Linked DNA regions of Homo sapiens: regions 2, 3, 4 and 5 are each linked to region 1. Evidence: promoter capture Hi-C in 16 types of primary human blood cells and fetal thymus (Javierre and others, 2016). All regions are on one chromosome and are shown on one strand. Each heading gives the region's core, a stretch centred on a gene start or on the middle of the fragment in contact. The rest is flanking DNA. Distances are from core to core; before and after follow the strand shown. Region 1 holds the start of DZIP1 (DAZ interacting zinc finger protein 1). Region 2 overlaps UGGT2 (UDP-glucose glycoprotein glucosyltransferase 2). Region 3 overlaps UGGT2 (UDP-glucose glycoprotein glucosyltransferase 2). Region 4 overlaps UGGT2 (UDP-glucose glycoprotein glucosyltransferase 2). Region 5 has its middle 120 kb from the start of DNAJC3.

What was found. The method cuts DNA at HindIII sites, captures the fragments that hold promoters and counts their contacts. A CHiCAGO score of 5 or more calls a contact.
Region 2: a contact is called between a fragment that was not itself captured here and the fragment with the promoter of DZIP1 in region 1, in 1 of 17 cell types (neutrophils). The highest score is 7.0, in neutrophils.
Region 3: a contact is called between a fragment that was not itself captured here and the fragment with the promoter of DZIP1 in region 1, in 3 of 17 cell types (neutrophils, M2 macrophages and M1 macrophages). The highest score is 11.9, in neutrophils.
Region 4: a contact is called between a fragment that was not itself captured here and the fragment with the promoter of DZIP1 in region 1, in 11 of 17 cell types (neutrophils, activated CD4 T cells, naive B cells and 8 more). The highest score is 16.4, in neutrophils.
Region 5: a fragment that was not itself captured here is called in contact with the fragment with the promoter of DZIP1 in region 1 in 1 of 17 cell types (neutrophils); the score reaches 12.5 in neutrophils.

The regions. Positions count from the first base shown.
Region 1 is chr13:95,643,456-95,647,842 of GRCh38, reverse strand. DZIP1 (DAZ interacting zinc finger protein 1) reads left to right here and starts at 3,137. Exons shown (of 23, transcript NM_198968.4): 1 at 3,137-3,466; 2 at 4,145-4,242. RefSeq lists an enhancer at 2,925-2,974 and silencers at 3,065-3,174, 3,265-3,354, 3,415-3,524. The HindIII fragment of the contact is 11,159 bases long and covers 1-4,387 here.
Region 2 is chr13:95,855,642-95,860,028 of GRCh38, reverse strand. UGGT2 (UDP-glucose glycoprotein glucosyltransferase 2) reads left to right here. Exons shown (of 39, transcript NM_020121.4): 33 at 354-438; 34 at 3,689-3,871. Among named protein-coding and RNA genes, the nearest start is that of DNAJC3, 180 kb to the right of the region's middle. The HindIII fragment of the contact is 3,067 bases long and covers 538-3,604 here.
Region 3 is chr13:95,834,380-95,838,766 of GRCh38, reverse strand. UGGT2 (UDP-glucose glycoprotein glucosyltransferase 2) reads left to right here. Exons shown (of 39, transcript NM_020121.4): 37 at 1,565-1,681. Among named protein-coding and RNA genes, the nearest start is that of DNAJC3, 160 kb to the right of the region's middle. The HindIII fragment of the contact is 621 bases long and covers 1,428-2,048 here.
Region 4 is chr13:95,812,576-95,816,962 of GRCh38, reverse strand. All of the region lies in intron 38 of UGGT2 (UDP-glucose glycoprotein glucosyltransferase 2), which reads left to right. Among named protein-coding and RNA genes, the nearest start is that of DNAJC3, 140 kb to the right of the region's middle. The HindIII fragment of the contact is 2,771 bases long and covers 581-3,351 here.
Region 5 is chr13:95,796,098-95,800,484 of GRCh38, reverse strand. No RefSeq gene overlaps it. Among named protein-coding and RNA genes, the nearest start is that of DNAJC3, 120 kb to the right of the region's middle. The HindIII fragment of the contact is 4,508 bases long and covers 1-4,340 here.

The DNA of each region.
Region 1 (4,387 bases), core at 1,888-4,387:
GTGTGAAAGAAAATAAAATCTTGGGACCCCAAACTCACTATGCCAAAGGAGATTTGAGCTTGGCAACTGAGTTGGGGCAATACTGCCTACCATTTTGTTTCCAAACAGATGGTTGTAATTTCACAATTCCATGCCAGAGCCTTATATATAAGTCAGATTCCCACAATAATAGAAGGCCATACACCTTCCCAGATGGCCTCCCTCACAAATTACAAAGAAATTCCCTGCAAGCCCCTAAATACATTTCTCCCTATAAACCAGCCCTAAAATCTGTTAAATCTCACAGTGACTGGTATGAGATGGTTTCTCATTGTTTTGATTTGCATTTTTTTGATGATTCGTGGTGTTGAGCATTTTTTCATACGTATGTTGGCCGCTTGTATGTGTTCCTTTGAGAAGTGTCTGTTAATGTCGTTTTCCATCAGTCAGAATGGCAATTAGTAAAAAGTCAAAAAACAACAGATGTTGGCGAGGCTTCAGAGAAAAGGGAATGCTTATACGTTGTTGGTGGAAATACAAACTAGTTCAGCCACTGTGGAAAGCAGTTTGGAGATTTCTCAAATAACTTAAAACAGAGCTACCATTCAACCCAGCAATCCCACTACCTGGTATATACCCAAATGAAAATAATTCATTCTATCAAATAGACACATATACCCATATGTTCATCACAGCACTATTCACTATAGCAAGGGCGTGGAATCAATCAAAGTGCCTGTCAACAGTGGATTGGATTTAAAAAATGTGGTACAGGCTGTTCTGCCTATGGAGTACATTTTTTTTTTATTCCTTCACTTTCTTAATAAACTTGCTTCCTTTTTTTTTCTTTTTTTTTTCTTTTTCAAGACAGAGTCTCCCTCTGTTGCCCAAGCTGGAGTGCAGTGGTATGATCTCAGCTCACTGCAGTCTCTGCCTCCCAGGTTCAAGTGATTCTCCTGCCTCAGCCTCCTGAGTAGCTGGAATTACAGGTGTGCACCACCATGCCCGGCTAATTTTTGTATTTTTAGTAGAGACGGGGTTGCACCATGTTGCCCTGGCTGGTCTCAAACTGTTGACCTGAGGTGATCTGCCCACCTTGGCCTCCCAAAGTTTTGGGATTACAGGTTTGAGCCACCTCACCTGGCCTATTATTCTTTAAACCATGTATATAAAACCAAGGTTAGGTATCTGAAATGGGAATATGAGGCAAAATAATTAATATGTATTGAATCAGACAACACATGTGATTTCTGCCCTTCTTTATTTATCGCCTTCATACTAAAGGACATTAGCCAGGTAATATCAATAACTATTTTCAAATGAGAGAAACAGAAACAATCATTTGAAATAAATTCAGCTACAATGCTTTTGTTTATTTACTGTACAAAATGATTAATGTTCACCAGTATTATTATTTCATTCTTTAGGATCATTTCTGTCTTCAAAAAGCAAATATTTATTTGAGGACTTACTAAATGCTCAAAATGCTGGAATACTTGAGGTTCTTATAGTCTGACCGACGAGAGAGATACCTTAATCATTAAAAATATGTATACCATTATACAATTGGTAAAAGTGGTTTGTGCATAGATCAAGAATGCATCATGGCTGCTAAGTCATGCCAAAGTCAATTGATTCTTCTTATTCCAATTCTACACCTGTAGGGTAATATACTGACAGTGGGGATGGGAAATACATGTAACTCAAATGGTATGTCAACAAATAATATTAATTAAGCAATCATCTCTCTCTCTCTCTCACACACACACACAGACAGCTACCGAGTTTGCAAAAACCGGATTTTGCAGAGCAATGGTCCTATCTATCTCATATTGTCTGAAATTCCTTTCTTTTTTTTTCTTTCTTTCTTTTTCTTTTCTTTTCTTTTTTCTTTTTTTTTTTTTTGAAACGGAGCCTCGCTCTCTCGCCCAGGCTGGAGTGCAGTGGCGCGATCTCGGCTCACTGCAAGCTCCGCCTCCCAGGTTCACGCCATTCTCCTGCCTCAGCCTCCCGAGTAGCTGGGACTACAGGTGCCCACCACCATGCCCGGCTAATTTTTTGTATTTTTAATAGAGACGGCGTTTCACCGTGTTAGCCATGATGGTCTCGATTTCCTGACCTCGTGATACACCCGCCTCGGACTCCCAAAGTGCTGGGATTACAGGCGTCAGCCACTGCGCTCGGCCTATTGTCTGAAATTTCTATCTAGAAATCTTTCCCCATAGTACTTAGAGGATTTTTATAGAGATCTTGAATTTTCTTTCAAAATAATTTTAAAATTAGACCAATTTAAAATCCCATCATGGTCATCTTGGCCTTATGGCTTCAAATAAAACTAAAGCAAGGAATTCAACATAAATACATATTTAGCTGTTGCTATGTTTGAAGCCTTGTGCTAAAGTATGGTACAAAGTTGATTCTGTCAGGGAGAAGCACAAGGAAAGGCACTTTTACAACGGCATGTTGGTCCAGTAAAAGTTCTGCAGCTACTCCTCTCTAATTTAAAAACATATATATATATATTATATATATATATATATATAGCTGCATTAGACACTTAGGTTTTGCAAAAGATGCCTTCATTTCTCATGATGGTATATACATACGTTCTGGATTACTTGTTACTTAAAAATACTGACTTTTGTCCCACGTGTTCCAATTTTAGGTTACATAAATGAGCACACTACTCCGGACCCACATCTCCTGTAATTCAGTGCCTAACTTTCTACCAACAAAGATCCGTGCCTTTCATCCTGAAGTGGGCATAACGGAAAGAGACGCAGAAACCTACGTGGGTTTAAATCCTAGAGGGCTTTGGTGAAAAGTCCCTAATCTCGGTTTTCCACGTCACTCAAATGCAGGGCCACATTAGATAGCCTTTTCAAGGTCCTTCGCATCTGCAGACTTCTGCGATTAAAACGCATCTCTTTTTGGAAGATAATTCACCTGAAGCTCCTCTGGGAAATTAGCTTGCTGAGGGCCAGACCAACAACCGGGTAGGAGCGAATCTGGTTTCTCTTTGAAAAGCCTTCCTAGGGTTAGCATCCAGGGCCAGCAACGGAGCGCGCCCCCGAACCACGTGTCTGCGCCAGCTGCCGGATTGGCTGAGCGCATTTTAGCGCTGCGGTCTAGACGCTCGCGGTCCCGCCCAGTTGCCAGAGGAGCCGGGACACCGAGGGAAGAGGCCGGAGGGAGATCGCGGAGGGGAGGGGGCGGGAGGGGGGTGGGGTATCCTGAGTCGTCCGTGGTCCGGAGTCTGGAAGGCCCTAGAGCGGCGCCAGTCGACCCGCCTCGCCACAACTTGCCCAGACCAGACACGTTTCATCCTGCGCCCTGCAAGAAGGAGCCGGCCTGCCTCTCTCCGCTTTGCTGCTCCTCGGCCTCCGCGGGCCCGGCCCGCGTCAGCAGCGACCCTGGGGTCTGGGTCCCCTGTGTCGCCCCCGCCCGCCTGCAGCGCCCGGCACCCGCCCAGGAGCGCGCAGCTGGGGTGAGCCGAGACCGGGGATGCGCCAGGCGCCCACAGGAGGTGGCTGACGGGGCATCCCGATACCCGCGAAGCCGGCCCTCCTGCCTCTCCAGGCTGCGAGCCGAGCCTCTGCAGATCCAGCTGGAGTAGCCGCCGCTGCCCCCACTGCCTGTTTGCCTTCCAAGGAAGGGCGCCGAGGTTCCCCTGGAACCCGCGTCTCTCGGCTTTTGTCTGCTGGTTCGGCTGCCCGGCGGTGCCATGCGCCTGGGACTTGAGGCGCCGCGCAAGGCTGGGGGCCCTGCCCGGGATGGGGGAGGGAGGGAACGGGAAAGCATGCCCCCTTCTTTCCTGTTCCGGCCATCTTGTGACCGAGATCCACGCAAGGGGAAAGGGGTGGTCAGCGGCACGACGCCCCACGATGGAGTGTGGCGGCCAACGGAGATGGGTACCTCGGGCCCGCAGGCCTCTGCGCCCAGATCTCAGCGGGGGCGCGCGGGCCACCCCCACGTTCAGCTCTGAAGCCCTTGGCCCAGATCATGGGTTAATCGTTCTAACAGGCCAGAGGCAGCAAAAATAGGAGGGATAAAGGGCCAGGAGCTGATGTTTCCTTAACTAAGCGCCTAAGTCATTCGATCGTTCTTCATTCACGTGTCCATTCAGCAAATTCTGAACGCCTTCTCCGTGCCTGTCCTCTGCTAGGTTCTAGGGACGTATACTTGAGCAAGAGAGACCACAGCTCTTGTTCCCGCTGATCCTGCAGCCCAGTGGATGGAGTCCAGAATCTACAGACCTGCCAGGTCGGTGTCTTGATGCTCTTAAACAGATGGAGGAAGCTAAGTCTTAGAGCTGACAATTTGTTCTAGATCAGGGAGCAAGTAAGTGACAGAATCAAACTTTGAAACTATTTATGTCTTTAGCACTTTTTATGCCTGGTTGCAGGGA
Region 2 (4,387 bases), core at 822-3,321, 210 kb before region 1:
CTCTTCAGGGTTTGTAGACTTAATATTAATCACACAGTCATGGACAGCTGGGCCCAGGTGAAGCTACCATGATGTATATGTATTCATCCTTACACATTACATACTTGATAAACCATATTTTAGTTTATTTCTTCACATTTCATTGTGAAAACCTTCTAATTCATACCTTCAATTATTTAAAAGCCTTTAAAAGACCTATGTAACAAACCTGTATGTTCTGCACATGTATCCCAGAACTTAAAGTAAAATTTAAGAAATTAAAATTAAATTTTAAAAAACACTTCAAGGTTAAAAAATATATATGAGCTCCTGTTACTGTTAATGTATATTGGGTTTAATATTCTTTTATACAGAATTATGATGCTTTCTGTTTTGCGTAACACCAAAACACCAGTGAAATTCTGGTTGCTAAAAAATTATCTCTCACCGACATTTAAAGTAAGTACATAGCTTTTTTTGTAGAATGGTTAATGTTTGAATAGTAAATTATTTGTATCATTGTAAGTTTATATGATATTTCTCTTTTCAGAATAAGCTTTTTGAAAAAATGGTATTTAGTATTTTTATGTAGCTTAAGAAAAATTCTGTACAATTTTTATTTAGAGATGTTCAAAGGAGAGGACAGAAGACTGTATATTTTTAAGTAAAATCAAAATCAGAATGGCTAGTAGTTTTTCATGATAATGAGTAATTAAATACAATTTGGCAATGGAAAATATATACAGATTTTCAATTAAAAGAAATGGATTCTGTCATTTTTGCAAAGATAGGCAGAAACAGTAGTAGTATCAAGAAAATACAAAGACTATACCTATACCGTAGAAAATAGTTTTACAGTACTGAAACAAAAAAGCTCTTTCGTCTGTGTAGTGTATTGATTGCTGGGCACCATGATCTGAGGCATTTTATATTTAGAAGATTTCAGGTGATCAACAGCTATTACCCTTTACTCAGCCCTATACTCCTGCTACAAAGTATACTCTGTTTCTTCCTATTCTCCCTACAGCATAATCAAATTCCGTGAAATTTAGTGTCTCCGCAGCAATTTGGTGTCTCATTCAACAGCATTTCAAATGAGTTTGTTTTTTCTAGACCAAAAGCAGTGGGAAAACAGAAGTAAAACTAGCCAAGCATGCTTTTATTCCTTAATATTTCTAGGCATGATGCCAAGTGTTTAACTGACGTTATTCAATTGTTTTTCATAACAATCCCACATGATAAGAAAACCAAGATTCAAAAGTTACGTAACTAGCTTGCACAGTTGAGAGGTACCTGAGACCACTTTTAGATTCAATAACTTACTATAAGGATTTATATAACTCCAAAAAACAGCTGTGCTCACAGTTACAGTTTTTATAGCAAAAGGACACAAATAAAATCAGCAAAAGGAAGAGATGCTTAGGGTAGGGTCCGGGGAGACCAGACACAAAGTTAACAGTTGTCCTCTCCCAGTAGAATCCCGTTACAGTGGATAGCACTTATTTCTTCCAGCAACAGTGTGTGAGGGTACTCGTGGAGTATTGCCAACCAGGGAAGCTCATTCAAACTTTGTGGTACAGAGTTTTTATTGAGGGTCAGCTGTGTGGACTTGGCTAACGGCCTGCATGACTAACCTTAACCTCTAACCCCTTCAGATGTTGAACTGATGCTTTGTGGCCCAAGGTCCTCACTACAAATAACATCATTAGCATACAATATCTAGTGTGGTCCGAGATCTGCAGGTAAACGTAGACATTCTTATTAGTCAGGAAATTCCAAGGGTAGAGGATATTTCCTGGGAGATAGGGTGAAGGGCCAGGGTAGGGGATATTTCCTGGGAGATAGGGTGAAGGGCCATACTTTTCTTTGAGCAAGAATCATCCTTTATAGCATAGGCCTGATATGAAACAGCTAATTAGAAACACAGCTGAGATTTGAACCCAGGCATTCAGACCTCAGGTGCTTAACCTTATGTAACAGCCCATTTGCCCTCCACCACCAACAGTGTCTCCTCCTATGCTCATTTGACAGTAGGAAAAAAAAAAAAAAACAGAAAAAGAACCTATAAATATAGATAAGAAGTTATACTATTTTTCTACTAATTTTTTAACATGCTTTCCTAGTAGTCAGACACTGAATAAGGGAGTATTTAACCCAAATAAACTGAGATAGAAAAATCTAAAGATTCTCTTAGCAGGAAAAGATATTATTCACCAGAACAATAGTGCTATGTCTGGATTAGAAAGTCTTGTTCCACTGCATGGCCAAAAGAAATACTGTATCTGAAGTAGTATTTTCCTTCTTTTTGTGATGTGTTTCTTTCATTCAAAATTTTTCTTTTGAAAACTTCTTAGTGAAATATAACATATACTCAGAAAAGTGCACAAATCATGAAATTTAGCTTTGGATTTTTACAAACTCAAACATCTGTGTAAATCAGCAGCCAGATACAGAAGCCGCTAGCTACTTTAGATTTGTTCCTACCAGTTTAGAAAAGTCAAACCTCCTCTCTTCATTCAAATATTTGCTAAAATTATACATACTTACACATAATTATTTTCTGACAGCACTATACAAACTATAATTCCCTCTCCCTTTTAATTTTTCTTCATAGCACTTTTTTCTGTAGATAATAGTTTATTTCTACCTACTTCCTCTAAAATACAAGCCTCATGAAGGTCATAATTTGTATTTCTTTTGTTCACTAATGTACCCTTAGATCCTAGAACAGTGCCCGTTTCAGTGAATATTTGGACACATATTTAATGAAGAAAAAATATTCTTTTTATTTTATCTGAATGTTTTATTTTATTTTATTTTGAAACCAAAACAATGACTCCTGGCAGCTGTTGTACCCCTAATTTCAAGATTTCACAGATAAAATTGGTGCTTCTTGCATTTAAAAAAAAGTATTTTAAATCTACATTGTTCTTACAAAGTCAGAGAAAAAAATTAAACATATAACCAGAAACTAGTTTCAAGTAAGAATCAAGTGGTAAAACGCAAATTCTATATTTATTAATTCATCTTTTCCAATTCCTTTTTCATTTTCTCTCTCAGTATTTGAGCTCTTGAACTAAATTTAGCCCACAGTATATTTCATTAACTGCTTCTGCTTTAAACAGGGAATAAGCTACTTCTAAGCCTATAAGATACTCAAATATGAAATATTCAGACCATAATCACTACTTTGTATTTTTAATCCTTGAATTAAATAATGATATATCTCAAACATGAAGCTCCTGTATAGAATCTAATTTATCAGCTTAGAACTTATTTTGTGTTTTTTGTATCCTCTCTTCATCTTTACATCTCTGACCAACCAACCTGTTGACATATACATGAACTATTTGATATGTAGGTGTTCCAAGATCCAGAGGCTTTTTTTTAAGTCAGTTTTCTCAAGTCAGATGTTAACAATAAAAGTATGGGAACATTTATCTTCCATTAATAAGTTTGTTAAATAATATAGTGCACTTATTTTTAATGACGTTAAATTATATAGTTTTATTTATACTTGTGATTTCATATTTGTTAGCATTTTAATATTTCTCATTAATAAGTATGTTATAGAAGTAGTATTTAGACATCTTGCCTATTAGTTTATAACAATTTATAGGAAGCTTTACCTTTTTAATGTTATTTTTTTCTCTAAAACAAAACTACTTTCTCTTGAACATATTGTTTGATTTTGTGTGTGTGTTTTTAGGAAGTAATTCCTCACATGGCTAAAGAGTATGGATTCCGATATGAACTAGTTCAATATAGGTGGCCCCGTTGGCTTCGTCAACAGACTGAAAGACAGAGGATTATTTGGGGTTACAAAATTCTTTTCCTTGATGTTCTTTTCCCACTAGCAGTGGACAAAATCATTTTTGTTGATGCTGACCAGGTAATAAGGTTAACTACTATTTTTAGTAATACGCAAACATTTTTTACACTTCTATCTTAATATAGAGATTAATTCATGTTGCTCATGTTTATTATCTTCATTACGGTGCTTAAGATACGATTGTGATATATAAGCAAAGTATCTTTAAAAACAAAAAGTCAGAATTCCAGGGGAAAATTGAAGGTATTGTAAGAAGTACCATTTATTATTTAGGACATGGAAGTTTTCTCTCTAAAGTAGTAGTTTTTTACATTTGAGAACTAAAACAAATACTTATATTAGTCATAATAAGAGTAGTTAATGAATTCCTGTAAATTATGTGCTGATATTTGTTTAAAACTAGGAATTTCTTCTTGCTAGAAAAGCTAGCAGTTACATACAACTCTCATTCTTCCACCTTCAACAGCATTCTTTCGCATTCAACCAATAACCAAATTCTCATCACTCTATCTCTTAAGGAAAAGAGCATTTTAAATTTGGCCAGCTTATGCCTGTAGTCTCAGCACTTTTGGAGGC
Region 3 (4,387 bases), core at 489-2,988, 190 kb before region 1:
GGAAGGGATTCCAAGGAACTAAGGGTGTCAGAAGGGACAGTTAAGGTTTTTCTTTCTTTGATTAACGGACTTTATTTTTTTAGAGCAGTCTTAGGTTTACAAAAAAAATGAGCAGAAAGTATGGGTAATTTTCTATTTCTGGGCTCTTTATTGTGTTCCATTGATGTATTTGTCTCTTATTTTTCCAATACCACACTGTTTTGATTACTGTAACTTTATAGTAAGACTTCAAGTGTGGTAGTGTCAGCCCTCTGACTTTATTCTTCAATATTGTGTTGGATATTCTGGATCTTTTCCTTTTTCCCTAAACTTTAGAATCAGTTGGCCAATCTCCACAAAATAACTTGCTAAGCCTTTGATTGGGATTGTGTTAAGTCTATAGATAAATCTGGGAAGAACTGTTATCTTGACTATGGAGTCTTCCTATGTGTGAACATAGAATATCTCTTCATGTATTTCAGTGTTCTTTGATTTCTTTCCTCAGAATTTTGTAGTTTTCATTTTGTTGAGGAACATATTTTATTAGATTTATGTTTAAGTATTTCTCTTTTTCGGTGCTAATGTAAATGGTGTGTTTTCTTAAATTTCAAATTATGTTTGTTCATTGCTGGTATATAGAAAAGCAGTTGACTTTTGTATATTAACTTTTTATCTTGTAACATTGCTAAAATTGCTTATCAGTTCCAGAAGTTTTTTCCCTTGATTCTTGGGATTTTCTGCATAAACAATCCTGTTATCACAAACAGTGACAGGTTTTTTTCCCTTCCCAATCTATATACATTTTCCTTTTCTTGTCTTATTGCATTTGCTAGGACTTTCAGTGTGATGTTTAATAGGGATGTTGAGAGAAGAACCTTAAAATTGTGAATCTTGGAGCTTATGTAGGACAACCAGCACAAGTACCCTTCATACTCTTGGAGAGAGAGGAACATGCCTTTGCTCTTGAATATAAGCAGATCTTCTATAGGGAAAGGAAGGGAAGGACTCCACCCCTGGAATATAAACAAATATCTCTGGGGAAGATTTGTCTGATTCTCTCCAAAGGTCTCTAACTTACTAGGCTAGTTTGCCAGTCAAACATCCATTAACCCAGATGCCAGCAATCTTTACTTAGAGAGCTCTGAGCATGCAGAAATGGGAAAATATTCATGGATCATTGTTTCCAATGGGGAGATGAAAATTCACCTCAGAATCCAGAGAGCATTGTGGTGACCAATATGAACAGTAATTGCAGGCATAATGTGAGCAATAGAGGCAGATAGAGGTAGTGAGGCTGTCCATTGTGGGGACTATTGAATGGTAGGTTTCTATGCCTCCTTCTTCATCCTTGTTCCCAGGGGTAGAGTCTAGGAGAGATGTAGGTATATTCCAGTGCATGGATTCATTCATGACACAAGATGATTGGATCACCTTAGGTATTTTAAGCTTTAAAGTGTAGAGAAATCTCAGATTTGCATATGTTTTATGATCTGTTTACAGTCTAACTGATGTCTTACTTCATTCAGCTTCTTTCCTTCTGACTCTAAATTTCATACGTCTATGATTAAATCACAATTTTCTGTAGGATCTCCCCAATAATATGATTTACCAAGTCGCCATTAAGTCTCTTCCTCAAGACTGGCTGTGGTGTGAAACCTGGTGTGATGATGAATCCAAACAAAGAGCCAAAACAATTGATCTGGTGAGTGTCTTTGTTTTCATTTGTATGTAAGCAGATACAGAAATGTTTAAATAGAAATATTTTCTTTCTGTTTTACAAAGGGAGTGGCATACGTATTACTTCGCTTCTTCTGCTGTTCAGTCTATTACACATTTACTTAGGTTGGCAAGTATAGGGTTATTTTGGGGGCCCCCAAGACCACCCTGAGGTTTGATGATTCACTAAGGAGATTCATGAGATGCAAAATATAATCATATTCATGGCTTGATTTATCACAGTGAAAGGATATAAAGCAAAGTCAGCAAAGGGAAAAGGCACATGGGGCAAAGAGAAAATCAGGTGCAAGATTCCAAGAGTCCTTTCTCTGTGATATCACACGGGACAAGCTTCATTCCTCAAGCAATAAGAGATTCCACAACCAGTGTGAAGTATTACCTACTAAGGACATTTATTAGAAACCCCAGTGTCCAGGGGTTTTACTGGGGGCTGGTGACCATATAGCACTGTCTGCCTGAGACACACCTAAATTTCCAGCACTCAGGAGGAAAGCAAGTGTTTAGCATAAACACCTTTGCACAGATAATTTAGACACAGTGAGTTACTCTTATAAAGGAATGGTGAGAACCATCCTGAACCCTGTGTTCCCAGATGCCAGCGAGGAGCCAAACTTACAAGCAGGTCTTTCTAAGAATAGCAATTTCAGGCTTTCTGTATTAACTCTTTTCTGCAAAAGGACTTTTGAAAAAAAGGCTTAGAGGGCTGGGCACGGTGGCTTACGCCTGTAATCCCTGCACTTTAAGAGGCCGAGGCAGGTGGATCACCTCAGGTCAGGACTTCGAGACCAGCGTTGCTAACATGATGAAACCCCATCTCTACTAAAATTACAAAAAATTAGCTGGGCGTGGTGGCACATGCCTGTAGTCCCAGCTACTCAGGAGGCTGAGGCAGGAGAATTGCTTGAACCTGGGAGGCAGAGGTTGCAGAGAGCGGAGATGGCGCCACTACACTCCAGCCTGGAGACAAGAGCAAAACTCCATTTCAAAAAAACAAACAAACAAAAAAAAAGGGCTGAGAGCTAGCTGAAAATGTTTGTGGATTAGCTATCATCTTGACATGTCTTCAGTTTAGTTATCCTGCCAATATTTTCCCCCAAATAAAGGCAAACAAGACAATTTTGTCTACTTAAAATATATCATACATGCTTTTTTCTTACTTATTTTTAAGAGATTATTTTTCCTAGATTTTCATTTAAAGCAGTTTATGCTGTGCAGTTTAACTCTCCTAAACATAAAATATTTCAAAGTAATTTATTTGTTGTCCATTTAGATTTTATATTCCACTACTACCTTGTCTTTAGTAGGTATAATAAGTTTTTTTCCTAGTATATTGTTTTTAATGTGCTAAGTGTAGAAAATTGTTTACAAGATCTTCACTGACGAATAAGCTATTAAAATGTTAGAATTCACACAATTTTGAACAAAAAAGAGCAGGAAAACAAAATATAGGAACTTTTTCAGACATGTATAGAAATACATATTTTAAAAATAGCATGCCAGCATGTTAGAATGTAATCATAGTTGGTAGAATATAGCAGAAACAAATAAAAAGGCATTTTTAAGAGGTAAGCAAGGGAATTTCATAAAGAGAGGCCAAGAACATTATTGAACACAACTACTAATATGTTGTTAGGGTTCTGTTGTGGCTCATACAGTAGTGGTGTAGGTCATTTTGGGATCTTTAGTACTTAGACTAACATGAGCTACCATAACAAACCCCCAAAATTCAGTGGCTTCATACTCATTCCAGCAGCAGACCTAAGTGGATATCTCCGTCATTGAGTAGCCCTCCTGTGTGCCATGTCTCAGGGAGTACTTTTTGTCCACCTGTAACTGCTTCTTCCAGTGCAGTAGCCACTTGCCTTATGTGGCTGTTGAGCCCTTAACATGTTGCTATTCTGAATTGAGATGTGCTGTAAGGTATAAAGTACACACCAGATTTTGAATACTCAATACAATGAAAATAACATATATCTCATTACTAATTTTTGTATTGATTACATGTTGACTTAGTATTTTGGATATATTGGGTTGAATAAAATATAGTATTAAAATTTATTTCACCTATTCCTCTTACATTTTTATACATGGCTACTAGAAAAATTTAGTATTTTTCTAGTGAAAAAACCCACAAATTATGTGTATGGTTTTCATTGCATTTGTATTGGATAGTACCAATCTGGAGGGAAGGGGAAAAAAAGTGTGGAGAACATATATCTTGAATCCTAAAGGCATGGCCCCTTGGTGGGAGTTGGTCACGTGGCCATATCTAGATGTAACAGGAGCTGAGAAATGGCATTCCTGGATGGACAGCTACTTCCTAGCAATAGCAATACCAATACCCAGGAAAAGGAGAAGTGGCACAAATTTTGGTGTTCAGCCCGTCTCCCTCATAGAAACACTAAGAGTAGAATGAGAGAACATGCTATTCTTCATGGAGGAGAAAAGAGAATGCAGAAAATTCCCAAGGAAATGGCCTAACAGAAGAAAAGAGCATGACTAATAATATTGAAGGTGGGAATGAAAATGTTTATGAATGTCATTATACTCTCTCAACTTTCCATCTCAGAGTTTTTCAGCCTCAGTACTATTGGCATTGAGGAGTGGAGAATTCTTTGTTACAGGGGTTTTCCTGTGCATTGTTGGGTATTCAGCAGCATTTCTGGCCTCT
Region 4 (4,387 bases), core at 717-3,216, 170 kb before region 1:
TAGAGAGGGGGTTTCGCCATGTTGGCCAGGCTGGTCTTGAACTCCTGACCTCAAGTGATCCACCTGCCTCGGCCTCCCAAAGTGCTGGGATTACAGGCATGAGCCACTGTGCCCAGCCCAGTTTAGTGACTTTTTACTAATATATACAGTCATGTAACCACCATCACAATCAAGATGTAGAACATTTTCCTTACCTCATGCAGCTCTGCAATTCACCTTTGTGGCAGAACCTTCCTTTCCACACCCAACTCTTACAATCACTAAGCTGCTTTCTGTTGTAACAGTTGTGCCTTTCCTCCAGTGCCATACATTGAATAAGTATATATTCTTTTGTTTGAATTCACAAAATTGAAACCAAAGACTTATCATGTTGTTGAATATATCAGTAGATTATTCCTTTTTATTCTTGAATGCTATTCCATTGTATAGATATACTATTCTATGCTTATCCTTTCTATTTGATGAACCTTTGGGTTATTTCCAGTTTGGGGCTATTATTAGTCTTAGTCTGGACCATATGTTTTCATTTCTCTTCTGTAAATACCTAGTAGTATGGGGGTGTTGGGTCATATGGAAAGCTTGTATTTAACCTAAGAGGCTGAGAAGCTGTTTTCCAAAGTGGTTGTAACATTCTAACTAACAACATATGAGAGTTCCAATTGCTGTACTTCCTCACTAACATTTGATATCACTCTCTTAATTTAATGGATGCATAGTGATATATTGTTGTAGTTTCAGTTTACATTTCCCTACAGACTAATTATAATATTAGTTCGTTCTTACACTGCCATTAAGAAATACCTGAGACTGGGTAATTTATAAAGAAAAGAGGTTTAATTGGCTCATGTGGTTCCACAGGCTCTACAAGAAGCATGGCAGCATCTGCTTCTGGGGAAGCCTCAAGGAGCTTTTATTCATGGTGGAAGGCAAAGCAGGAGCAGGTGTCTTACATTGGAGGAACAGGACCACGAGAGAGAAGGGGAAGGTGCCACACACTTTTAAACAACCAGATCTCACACTAACTCACTCACTATCACAAGAAGAGCACCGAGGGAATGCTGCTAACCCATTCATGAGGACTCTGCCCCCGTGGTCCAGTTACCTCCTACCAGGGAATTATACCCTCCCACCTCCAACACTGGGGATGAGATTTGGTGAGGACACAGATCCAAACCATATCGTTGTGCTTATTGGCCATCTGTATATTATAAGTTTTTTTGCAAAGTGCCTATTCAAGATTTTTGCTCTTTTTTAAGTTTTGGATTTTGAATTTCTTTGGAAAACAAAAAAGCCCACTGAGATTTTGATTGCAACTCTTGTTTTAAATCAGTTTGGTGAAGATTAATGTGTTGATTATGTTGAGCTTCCAATTCATAAATACGATATGTTTCTTGATTTATTTTGGTCTTTAATTACTCCTAGCAGAGTTTTAGTTTGCAGTGTACATATTTTACTAAGAATTTTATAACTGAATGCTAATATAAATGGTATTTTTAAATTTCTTGTTGGTTGCTAATACATAGAAATACAATTAATTTTTGTATATTGGACTTATGTCCTGTGGCTTTGCTATACTCACTTATTAGTTCTAGTAGAGTTCTTAGGAATTTTTTCATAATGGGTCCTGTTATAGTTGTAGAGTTCACAGGATTGTCTTCACAGTGGATCATATCTTCAGCAAATAAAAATAGTTTTACTTTTTCCTTTCCAGTCTTCATAGTAATGTGTTTTATTTATTTTTCTTGTTGTGCTGGACTGGCAAGGGCCTCTGGGTTGAGAACAGATACCCTTCCATGCCTGTTTTTCATCTTAGTGAGAAGGCATTTAGTTTTAGACCATTATGGATGATGTTAGCTTTGGGTCTTCATAGATGTCCTTTATCAGGCTGTAAAAGTTTCCTTTTATTCCTAGTTTACTGGGAGTTTTAATCATAAATTGATACTTGAGTATGTCAAATGCTTTTTCAATATCTGTTGAGATGATCATATGGCTTTTCTCTTGTAGTTAATATATAAATTATACTGATTGACATTACAGTGTTTAATCAACCTTGTATTTCTGAGATAAAGTCTACTTGGCTATGATGGAGGATCCTTTTTATATATTGCTGGTTTTAATTTCCTGAAATTTTCTTAAAGATTTTTGCATCTGTGTTCATGGAGAATATTGTTCTATAATTTTCTTAATGCCTTTATCTGGTGTTAATGTCAAAGTAATGCTTGTCTAATAGAATGAGTTGAAGTCAAAGGAGATTGCCTCAGATGAGACTTTGGACTTTGGAGTTTTGAGTTAATGCTGGAATGAGTTAAGACTTTAGGAGACTATTGGGAAGGCATGATTGTATTTTATAATGTGAGAAGGACATGAGATCTGAGGCAAATCCCTTCGCCTATGAGCCTGTAAAATAAAAAACAAGTTAGTTATTTCCAAGATACAAAGGAGATGTAAGCATTGGATAAACATTCCTCTTCCAAAAGGAAAAAATTGGCCAAAAGAAAGGGGCTACAGGCCCACACAGGTCCAAAACCCAGCAGGGCAGTCATTAAATCATAAAGCTCCGAAATAATCTCCTTTGACTCCATGTCCCACATCCAAGTACACTGATATGAAGGGTGGGCTCCCAAAGCCTTGAGCAGTTCCACCCCTGTGGCCTTGCCGTGTTCAACCCCCGAGGCTACTCTCACAGGCTAGAGTTGAGTGCCTACAGCTTTTCCACACTGAAGGTGCAAGCTGCCAGTGGATCTACTGTTTTGGGCTCTGGAGGACAGTGGCCCTCTTCTCATAGCTCTGCTAGGCAGTACCCCAGTGGGGACTCTCTGTGGGGGGTACAATCCCACTTTTTCACTCCATACTTCCCTAGTAGAGGTTCTCTCTAAGACTCTACCCTTGCAGCAGGCTTCTGCCTAGATACCCAGACTTTTTTTAATACATTCTCTGAAATCTAGACGATGGCTGCCAAGCCTCATTCACTCTTGCACTCTGCATGCCTACAGGCTTAACACCACATGCCAGCCACTGAGGCTAATGGCTTGCACCCTCTGAAGTAGCAGTCTGAGCTATATCTGGGGCTCCTTTAGCCGATGCTGGAGCCAGAGTGGTCAGAATGAGGAAAACAGTGTCTTGAGGCTGTGCAGGGCAGCAGGACCCTGGGCCTGGACCATGAAACCATTCTTCCCTTCTAGGTCTCTGGGCCTGTAATGGGAAGGGCTGCTGCAAAGGTCTCTGAAATGCTTTTGAGGACTTTTTCTCATTGTCTTGGATGTTAGCTCTTGGCTCACTTTTGGTTATGCGAATATCTCTAGCAAGTGGTTGCTCCACAGCTTGCTTGGATTCTTCCTTTGAAAACAAGCTTTTATTTTCTACATGGCCAGGCTGCAAATTTTCCACTTTTACACCCTGCTTCCCTTTTAAAAGTTCCAACTTTAAATCATTTCTTTACTCCCACATCTGAGCATAGCTTGCTAGAAACAGCCAGGACACATATTAAATACTTTACTGCTTAGAAATTTCTTCTACCAGATACCCTAAATCATCGCTTTGAAGTCAAACTTCCACAGATCCCTAGGGCACAAACAGAATGCAGCCAAGTTCTTTGTTAAAGCATAACATGTATGACTTTGCTCCAGTTCCCAGCCAGTTCCTCATTTCCATCTGAGAGCTCACTTCACTGTCCATATCACTATCAGCATTTTGGTCACGACCATTAACCAATCTCTGAGATGTTCCAAACTTTCCTTTATCTTCCTGTTTTCTTTTGAGCCCTCCAAACTCTTCCAGCCTCTGCTATTACCCAATTCCAAAGTTGTGTCCACGTTTTCAGGTATCTTTATAGCAGTGTCCCACTCCTTGGTACCAATTTTCTGTATTAGGCCATTCTTGCACTGCCATAAAAAAATACCTGAGACTGGGTGATTTATAAAGAGATTTATGGTTCATGGTTCTCAGGCTGTACAAGCATGGTGCCAACATCACTTGGGTTCTGGGGAGATATAATTCACATACTATACAATTCACCGATCAAAATGTATAGTTCAATCACTTTTAGGGTATTCACGGAGTTGTGCATCCATCACGGCAATCAGCTTTAGAACATTTTCACTACCTCATAAATGGGGGAGGCCTCAGGGAGCTTTTACTGGTAGCGAAGGTGAAGTGGGAGCAGGCATATCACATGGTGAAAGCAGGAGCAAGATGAGAGAGAGTAAGGTGGGTACAGTATACCACACACTTTTAAACAACCAGATCTTATGAGAACTCACTATCACAAAGACAGCACCAAGCCATGAAGGACTGCCACCAAGAGCCAAACCACCTCCCACCAAGCCCCCACCTCCAGCATTGGGAACTACAACTCAATTCAATATGAGATATAGATGGGGACAAAAAT
Region 5 (4,387 bases), core at 837-3,336, 150 kb before region 1:
CTCTCCACCTCTAGAGACAGGCTGGTCCATCTTTGGACAGCTCTGTACACACAGTTCCATCATGAGCCGAAGCTCACTCCTGTGAGCTTTTCAGAACAAGGCTAATCCTTCTGTGTTTGACAGAACAGCCCATAGAGTTAAAATACTACTCCTCCCATCAGCTCCATTCATTCCTAATAAGAGAGCGCCTGCCTCTCCCTCTTGCAGTCATCCTCCCTTTGTTACTTGTTCGTGTTTGTCTGTATTAAAATGGAGTGCACCATTTATGGCCTGCTCTGGTGGAACTAGGTTATTCCTGTGAGTTCAGAGTATCCTATAGGGTACACTCAGAGGCTGGAGCAGTAAATGGTCCTGGGGCGGCCAGCGTCATGGTGCTCTCCGGCTCACTCTTGGGAGTCAGCTGAAGCTGGGGATTGGTAAGAGGTGAGACTCTGTAAGGTTCTAGGTCAGGCCAGATGCTCCACCCAGCTACCCAGAGGTCTGCTGCGGTGGCTGGGGCACAAACCTCAACTATAAGATGGTACTTTGTTTTCCTTTGTTACCAGCCTGTCTTCACTTCTGTGAGAATCTTATAGAAAGGATGATCAGCTGGGCAGAGACACCGGATTCCTACTTTTATTACCTACAATGGCCTTCTCCAGTATTCTAGGTCCCATATTTTCATGGAGTATTAAGCTAAAATTACAGAACAATGTAAACACAGTCTTGATGGCCCCCCTCCCTGTTTGCATCTTGTGATCTGAGTGGCCAGTTTACATGTTACATTTCCAGGTGAGTGACACCTTATACCAGAAAATCCAGATTTATAAATAAGGTATTTCTTTACAGTGAGATGTTTTAATTAAATGGCTTGTTTTAAAAATGCTGTTATGTCAAGAGCTCTCATGCATACAAACTGCTGTGCCATACAAAAATGTACCCTCCTCAGGGACACATTACATAACTGAACCATAGGTCTTATTTGCTAACACTTGGAGAGAAAGCCATTCAGTTCCTTGTCCTGGAGATGCTGAACAAATATAGTCCAACGGCTTTCATGGTATATTCAGGATCCTAAATTCTGGTTCTCGGCTGCAGGCCCTATGTCAAGTTTTAACAAAAATCAAATCCTAGAAGTAGTGGAGGTCAGCGGAATGTGGGGGAACTAGTTTCTAACTATGGGAAGTGATAAATGTCTTCTCTTTCTGCCTTCTTAGAAAAAGTGTCAGAACAGTGTATCTAAACTAAGAATGAGAAGCATTTGTGTTTGACCCACAGTGATGTGTGAGCTTTATGTAGAAAGTAGACCCAGAATCTGAGCATTAAGACAATCCAAAGTCAGCATACCACCTCCAACACTTAGGTCCAAAAGATTGTATTTGGGAAATGCCTGTCATTTGGCTCCAGTTACCCTCAAGCTCCTAGAGAACAACATAGCTCCTAGAAGGATAGCATCAAATACTTCTAAAGGCACCTAAAGCCATGTCAGCCTGGGGTTATAAAATCAGGCTTTTAATATTAAACATGTAGTCTGACACAAGTGGGACCTGCCCACAGAACTGCTTGTTGCTGTGTGCCAGGTCCTGACTCCAGCACCTGAAAAGCAACCAGACAACAAATTGCCACTGCCCAGAAGAGGCTCCAGGGACCCAACAGAATACTTTCATGGGCAGGAGGTACGGGACAAGTCAGATGAACACGTGGATCATGTGTCTCAGATCCATAGTTACAGAGATGAAGTAAAAGGTGCTGATGGGCCCATGCTCAAACCAACAAGCAGAAGTTATGACCCAGCCATTGTCTCACTCACTTCTGTTACTTCATAGACTGAAGGGGCTCCACTCACTTCTAAAGAACCAGTTGATTGGTTAAAATCTCACCTTTGGTGGCAGAGTGAGGAAGAGGAAACATGATGGTCCAGGGCTTTGATGGCCAAAATTACAGGTAACTTTGTAAGTTAGAGGGGCTCGGTCAGGTGTGTAAGCCCATTCTAGAACCTCTCTTTTTTAAAGTCTTCAAGTGTTATCGTAATGTGACAGCTGTTCCCCATTTTCTATTTGTTAACCCCATTTACCAAATACAAACTTCTATTTTCTGAGAAATTCTCAGGTAAAGCCTCTTGACTTAGAACTAGTAACACCTCTGTTGTAAAGATCTCTGATTTGGAAAATAATCTTCTCCTCTACAGTTAATAATTACTTGAAGTGAAGAAGTTTACTTCAATCATGTGGATCTGCTCAACTATGTAAAGTTTGTATCCTACCTGATGTGATTTTACTTTAAAAAGGAAAGGTTTTTATTAGAATTGAAGAAAAATTATTCAGATTTTAAAGATGGGCTTCAAACCATTATTTGAATATGTTTAATTTAAAATTTTCAGGAAAAGGAGAGGAGGAATAATTATGGTACTACCTTTACTGGGTAAGATGAATGTTGAAATAAATAGAACTAATCCTGTAGTAGAGTGTCTAGTCTAGAGCATCAGATTGAAACTACTTTCCATACAAATGTCCTGCCACAGACCTCTGCCGTGTTTGTCTTCCTCACGCTGGTAGGTAGCTTTTCCTTTGTTTCCCCACGGTCTGCTTCCACCAGAAAACGATTTCTAAAAAGTTTCATCTAAATAAGGCCAGTAATATGGTAGGTCTCTCTGCCCTGAACAGATTGAACAAATATTTCAACAATTTAACAAATAATTTAGGTACCTACTGTGTGCCAAGCTGTCCTCTTAAGGTTACTAGACAGTATAAATGACAGACATTAATACCCAAATGAAAATGTTGTGAAGGGCAAGTGTCAAGACAGACCTAACAAGTAACATTTTAGGATGAAACCTGAAGTAAAAGTTCGTGCTAGCCAGGCAAGAAAGAATAGTATGGAAGGAGTTTTGTTCGTTTGAGGACTGAAAGAAGGCCCATGAGGTTGGAGCCTGGGTGACAAGGCAAGTGAGTTTATGAACCATGTGAAGAGCTTTTGTGATTTGATCCTCAAGCGCAGTGAAGGGCTAACATCCATTCATATAAATCCTAAACTGCTCGGTGAATATTTTTATGCCTGCATTGTTTCCTAATTCCTTATTCATAACAGCAGTACCAACTTTTTGGACAAAAGCTCTAGATTTGCTAATGCTGCTTTTTTTCATTGTTCAATGTCCATAATGAATTTCCTCTCATCTGAGGCCCTGTCCTACAGGGAGAGCCCTCCCCTCATTCCACAATTGCTTAATGTTTATGCATTCAGTAGGAGGAATAGATGCTATTTTGTTTGTACAAACATTAACCATAGAATGAAGTCTTTCCACTGTAACTTGAGATAACAAAGCCACAAACATTGCAGGAAACAAAATAGTGCAACCGGTGGTATATATGAAGTGACAGGGTATCTAAAATCCTAAGAAAACTTGACACAGTGAAATGTACGTAATTTGTTAAAAGAATTATCCTTTTTTTTTCTTTCTGAGATGGAGTCTCACTGTTGCCCAGGCTGGAGTGCAGTGGCACAATCTTGGCTCACTGCAACCTCCGCCACCCAGGTTCAAGCGATTCTCCTGCCTCAGCCTCCCAAGTAGCTGAGACTACAGGCGCCTGCCACCACGTCCGGCTAATTTTTTGTATTTTTAGTAGAGACAGGGTTTCATCATGTTGGCCAGGCTGGTCTTGAACTCCTGACCTCAGGTGATCCACCCAACTTGGCCTCCCAAAGTTCTGGGATCACAGGTGTGAGCCACTATGCCCAGCCCAAGATTCATCCTTTTAACAGATACTTTAGAGAGGATTTTTCCTTCTTATACTGGTTTCCCTAACTAGTTACTTGTAATTTTGCTCCTAAGTATGAAGATGCTTTATCTCTAAAGAATTATCCTTTTAACAGATAGTTTAGAGAAAAAGCATCTTCATACTTAGGAGCAAAACTGCATGTAGTTAGGGAAAACAGTGTAAGAAGGAAAAATCCTTTTTAACCGTACCTACAAATGGCACACTGTACTCAAAGATATACCTATACAAATCTCCTGTAATAACAAGGAAGTATATAAATACCAAGAAGACTTAAGAGCAGTTGAAATCCACTCAGAAATGCTGCAAGCAGTGGTTACTCCCTTATGCTTTTTACATATGTTCAATTCTGGTTTCCTCAGACCTTGGCACTAATGTTCCCAGTGGCCCTTCCAAGCCACGGCGGCCCAGTCCCTGGGAGTATCTGTCAGAGGGATGCTTATCCCAGTAGACTGAGTTGATCAGGAAAAACAGAACTGAGTGAAGGCTGGAAATGTGTTCAAAATAGGAATGCAAGCTGAGTTATCTCCTGTATGCTTCATTAGAAACAGAATCCTAGTATAAGGCAATAAATATGCATATTAAGCTTTTATCATAGAAGCATTCCCAAAGGATTTGCTCAGCATAAAAGGGTT